Linked DNA regions of Homo sapiens: region 2 is linked to region 1. Evidence: promoter capture Hi-C in 16 types of primary human blood cells and fetal thymus (Javierre and others, 2016). All regions are on one chromosome and are shown on one strand. Each heading gives the region's core, a stretch centred on a gene start or on the middle of the fragment in contact. The rest is flanking DNA. Distances are from core to core; before and after follow the strand shown.

What was found. Contacts are between HindIII fragments. The CHiCAGO score rates a contact against its expected background, and 5 or more counts as called.
Region 2: a fragment that was not itself captured here is called in contact with the fragment with the promoter of DAPK1 in region 1 in 1 of 17 cell types (erythroblasts); the score reaches 6.3 in erythroblasts.

The regions. Positions count from the first base shown.
Region 1 is chr9:87,496,459-87,499,298 of GRCh38, forward strand. It overlaps DAPK1 (death associated protein kinase 1), which reads left to right and starts at 1,409. Exons shown (of 26, transcript NM_004938.4): 1 at 1,409-1,649; 2 at 2,512-2,681. The coding sequence starts at 2,620. RefSeq lists silencers at 1,058-1,117, 1,138-1,487, 1,858-2,047, 2,258-2,367 and an enhancer at 1,758-2,515. The HindIII fragment of the contact is 10,886 bases long and covers 1-2,840 here.
Region 2 is chr9:87,327,817-87,330,656 of GRCh38, forward strand. No RefSeq gene overlaps it. Among named protein-coding and RNA genes, the nearest start is that of DAPK1, 170 kb to the right of the region's middle. The HindIII fragment of the contact is 6,039 bases long and covers 1-2,840 here.

The DNA of each region.
Region 1 (2,840 bases), core at 159-2,658:
CTCCAGCAGTGGGATGTGGGGAATCAACCCTTCTTCGTCTCCACCCAAACATTAGGTGGGAGCAAGGGGTGGGAAGTAGAGAAAGTGGATAGAGGTCTCCAGTGGATATGGGATCTTTGTGTAGACCAGCACAGTCCTCAGAAATCTCATGCAAGCAACATAGGTACTGTTATATTTTCTAGTGGCCACCTTTTAAAAAGTAAACAGGTGAGGCCGGGCGCGGTGGCTCACGCCTGTAATCCCAGCACTTTGGGAGGCCCAGGCGGGCGGATCACGAGGTCAAGAGATGGAGACCATCCTGGTCGACACGGTGAAACCCCGTCTCTACTAAAAATACAAAAATTAGCTGGGCATGGTGACGCGCGACTGTAGTCCTAGCTACTGGGGAGGCCGAGGCAGGAGAATCACTTGAACCCTGGAGGTGGAGGTTGCCACGCTCCACTACACTCCAGCCTGGCGACAGAGTGAGACTCCGTCTCAAAAAAAAGAAAGTAAACAGGTGAAATTAATTTTAATAATATATTTTGTTTAACCCAACGTATCCAAAATACTATCATTTGAAAGTGTAATGAATATAAAAATATTCATGAGATATTTTTCATTCTCATATCCATACTGTCTTGGACTCTAATGTGTATTTTACACTTACAGCACAATTAATTTGGGACTAGCTACATTTCAGCTCAACAATAGCCAATAGCATATGGGATAGCGCAAATAAACTCTGCGTCTCTGTTGCTTCTTTGGGTCTCGGAGACCTCAACCCTTTCTTCAGATTGCAAACCTTCTTGCCTTCAAGCCTCGGCTCCAACACCAGTCCGGCAGAGGAACCCAGTCTAATGAGGTACGCTCCCTTCCTGCCATTCTCTATTCCATTAACCTGTTTCGTGGTAAACGTAGGACTGATCCTCCAAAATTACCTTATTAATTAGCTTACATATTTATTATCTATCTGTCCCACCAGAATGCAGGTTTCCGGAAGGCAGGGATTTAAAAAAATCTGTTTTGTTCTATGTGATTTTCCCATACCAAGCACCGTGCCCGGCACAAGCTGGGATCCCAGTACACATCTCGGGACGGAAGAACCGTGTTTCCCTAGAACCCAGTCAGAGGGCAGCTTAGCAATGTGTCACAGGTGGGGCGCCCGCGTTCCGGGCGGACGCACTGGCTCCCCGGCCGGCGTGGGTGTGGGGCGAGTGGGTGTGTGCGGGGTGTGCGCGGTAGAGCGCGCCAGCGAGCCCGGAGCGCGGAGCTGGGAGGAGCAGCGAGCGCCGCGCAGAACCCGCAGCGCCGGCCTGGCAGGGCAGCTCGGAGGTGGGTGGGCCGCGCCGCCAGCCCGCTTGCAGGGTCCCCATTGGCCGCCTGCCGGCCGCCCTCCGCCCAAAAGGCGGCAAGGAGCCGAGAGGCTGCTTCGGAGTGTGAGGAGGACAGCCGGACCGAGCCAACGCCGGGGACTTTGTTCCCTCCGCGGAGGGGACTCGGCAACTCGCAGCGGCAGGGTCTGGGGCCGGCGCCTGGGAGGGATCTGCGCCCCCCACTCACTCCCTAGCTGTGTTCCCGCCGCCGCCCCGGCTAGTCTCCGGCGCTGGCGCCTATGGTCGGCCTCCGACAGCGCTCCGGAGGGACCGGGGGAGCTCCCAGGCGCCCGGGTGAGTAGCCAGGCGCGGCTCCCCGGTCCCCCCGACCCCCGGCGCCAGCTTTTGCTTTCCCAGCCAGGGCGCGGTGGGGTTTGTCCGGGCAGTGCCTCGAGCAACTGGGAAGGCCAAGGCGGAGGGAAACTTGGCTTCGGGGAGAAGTGCGATCGCAGCCGGGAGGCTTCCCCAGCCCCGCGGGCCGGGTGAGAACAGGTGGCGCCGGCCCGACCAGGCGCTTTGTGTCGGGGCGCGAGGATCTGGAGCGAACTGCTGCGCCTCGGTGGGCCGCTCCCTTCCCTCCCTTGCTCCCCCGGGCGGCCGCACGCCGGGTCGGCCGGGTAACGGAGAGGGAGTCGCCAGGAATGTGGCTCTGGGGACTGCCTCGCTCGGGGAAGGGGAGAGGGTGGCCACGGTGTTAGGAGAGGCGCGGGAGCCGAGAGGTGGCGCGGGGGTGCCACCGTTGCCGCAGGCTGGAGAGAGATTGCTCCCAGTGAGGCGCGTACCGTCTGGGCGAGGGCTTCATTCTTCCGCGGCGTCCCTGGAGGTGGGAAAGCTGGGTGGGCATGTGTGCAGAGAAAGGGGAGGCGGGGAGGCCAGTCACTTCCGGAGCCGGTTCTGATCCCAACAGACCGCCCAGCGTTTGGGGACGCCGACCTCGGGGTGCCGTGGTGCCCGGCCCCACGCGCGCGCGGGGCTGAGGGGTCGGGGGCGTCCCTGGCCGCCCAGCTTTAACAAAGGGTGCTCCTCTCCACCCCGCGAGGAGGGGCAGCTCCGGAGACCCGGTCTTCAGCGAGCGGGGTCTTAGCGCCGGGGAGGTCTACTTCCTTTTGGGGTTGCCATTTTACTATTATTATTGCCTTTTTTTTTTCTTCAAAAGGACTGGAGACTGATGCATGAGGGGGCTACGGAGGCGCAGGAGCGGTGGTGATGGTCTGGGAAGCGGAGCTGAAGTGCCCTGGGCTTTGGTGAGGCGTGACAGTTTATCATGACCGTGTTCAGGCAGGAAAACGTGGATGATTACTACGACACCGGCGAGGAACTTGGCAGGTAAAGGGGGTACCAGAAGCGTACCCTCCTGGATTGTGGAAATGCATAACGATGGGGCCATTGGGTGGTAAACAAATGCAGTTTGAATCAGGCGTCTCCCTCGCCCTTTCTGGAGATGCGCAAATCATAGAGAAAAGAGTTACTAACCCAGCGGTAAAC
Region 2 (2,840 bases), core at 176-2,675, 170 kb before region 1:
GATTCACATCTGTTTTAACCTCCTGATTCTGAATATTCAGCTAAATCCCTAGTAGATTCACACTGCTCCAAACCAACCCCTAAACTAGGATCTCCACTAGCACCAAACTTGTCTGTCCAAACTCAAAGTTAAAGACCAGATTTCCATAAATTCCTGGGTGTAGAATTTACAGTGTGAGTAACTTCCGCCACAAAAGCTCAACTGATCATAAGCAGTTTCCCCACAAGTCCACCACATTCCTTCTACTCCACTTGGATGTGGGGACATTCACAATGGCAGGAAGAGAACCCTGGCAGACTCTGCTGGACTCACCCCAGAGATAGGTGGTCTCTCAGTAGTGATGAGAGTGAGACTCAGGAATACAGAGGGAAGGGAAATGAGGCAGGGGCCACCTGCAGAGAGTGCTCCCGTGGCTGGATCTAGTGAGATCACCCTTCAAGAAGCCATGCAAATGGCACTACAGGACAGTTAGTCCAGGGGTGCAAAGCGGAAGAATTTATCCACTGGCTCCTATGTCCCAGGGTCAAATGTTTGCCCCGTGTGGCGTTGCCTCCGCCATGCTTCATGGCTGTGCATGCATGAACACTGAGCATGGTCTGTAGTGTTTCATGCCTCATCCCAGGCCAAAGCAAGAGACAGGCATCACAGAAGGGGGTGGGGCAGATCAGGGAACACCAAGGGAAAGTCACTTGGAGCTCTCACAGAGCCGGTTGCCACTATAATAACTGGAAAAGTAGGTCAGGCCAAGAGGCTATGAATTGTGCATAAGAGATATCTGAGTCTCCACAACACAGTAGTTCCACTCCTGCTAGATCCTGGAAAAGAAAAATCTCACACATTTTCACAAGGAGACAGGTACTAGAATTTTAATGTATTTTATTTTATTTATTTATTTATTTATTTTGAGATGGAATCTCACTCTGTCACCCAGGCTGGAGTGCAGTGGTGCGATCTCGGCTCACTACAACCTCCGCCTGCCAGGTTCAAGCGATTCCCTTGCCTCAGCCTCCCGAGGAGCTGGGATTACAGGTGCCTGCCACCACACCCAGTTCATTTTTGTTTTTTTTTTTTCTTTTTTGAGATAGAGTTTTGTTCTTGTTGCCCAGGCTGGAGTGCAATGGTGCGATCTCAGCTCACTGCAACCTCCGCCTCCCAGGTTCAAGCGATTCTCCTGCCTCAGCCTACCTAGTAGCTGGGATTACAGGCATGCGCCACCACGCCCGGCTAATTTTGTATTTTTAGTAGAGACGGGGTTTCTCCATGTTGGTCAGACTGGTCTCGAACTCCCGACTTCAGGTGATCTGCCCACCTCGGCCTTCCAAAGTGCTGGGATTACAGGCATGAGCCACCGCGCCCGGCAGGTACTAGAATTTTATTGTCGCATTGTTATGTATGTATGTTTTTATATTTTGATCTTATGTCCAGGGTTAATCCTACAGTATTAGAATTAGCAATTCTAATTCTTTACGTGTTGGTAAGATTCTTACATTGTTGGTAAGATTTTGTATGTTGATACCTGCAGCTCTAATTCATTTTTATTGTTATATAATGATTTATTTGCTTGTTTTACTACAGAGTAGTCATCCATTCTCTCATGGGTGGACTTTTAGATCGTTTAAGTAGTCCGCTTCTCCTCCCCTTCCTTCTCCTCCTTTCCTATTACATAACAATGCAACAATAAAATTCTAGTACCTGCCGAGCGCGGTGGCTCATGCCTGTAATCCCAGCACCTTGGGAGGCTGAGGCAGGTGGATCACCTGAGGTTAGGAGTTCGAGACCAGACTGACCAACATGGTGAAACCCCATCTCTACTAAAAATACAAAAATTGGCCAGGCATGGTGGTGTGCGCCTTTAGTCCTAGCAACTGGGGAGGCTGAGACAGGAGAATTGCTTGAATCCGGGAGGAAGAGCTTGCAGTGAGCCAGCTGAGATCGTGCCACTACACTCCATCCTGGGTGACAGAGTGAGACTCCATCTCAAAAAAAAAAGAAAAATGCTTTGGCAACAGTTTATACTGCACATCAATACTAAATTCAGACTTTGTTTCGGGCCTCAATTCTTATTTTTTTAACTTTTTACCAAGAATCTTGCCCAACTGAAGGAAATATCAAATGCATTTTTATAGTGAATTCTCAGTATATACAGAGTAAATTTCAATTGTGCAAATGGTAGATATTAACATGCCTTCAGTGAGTAGGATGAATCAAAGGGAAAATATGAAAATAATTGAAAAGTTCTAGAAATGAGCTATTTGTCTTCTCTACACAAGAAAAAGTAGCACCCAGTTCCATGTGACTCCTTGTTAACAGAGGCAGTCACCATCCTCCAGCTGTGGTCGTCTCCAAAGATGACCACCATGCTATCAACTCTCCCTGCCTGTATGTACATCCATTCCTCTAATGAGAGGTGGAGTGTACTTCTTTTCCTTTGAATCTGGGCTAGCCCCTTGCTCTGATGGATAAAATATGTCAGAAGTGAATTTTGAACTCAGGAGTTAAGCTGACCCTTTCTACCTCCTTCTTGGAACATTCATTCTTGGAACTGAGGCATCAAATTTTGAGGAAGCCTAAATAACTACATTGCAAGGCCCATATGGGGGAAAACAAAGGTCTTTGGTAAACAGCCCTAGCTCAGCTCCCAGCCAACATGCAGTACCAACTGCCAGACATGTGAGTGAGCTCTCCTGGGTCTTTCTTCCCAGTCGAGCCCTCAGAAGACTGCAGAGTCAGCTGACATCGCATGGAGCAGAAAAACTGACCCCAAGTCCATTTCACCCATAGAATTAGGAATAGTAAGATGGCTGTTGTTTTAAGCTACTGTATTTTAAATTGGCTTATTC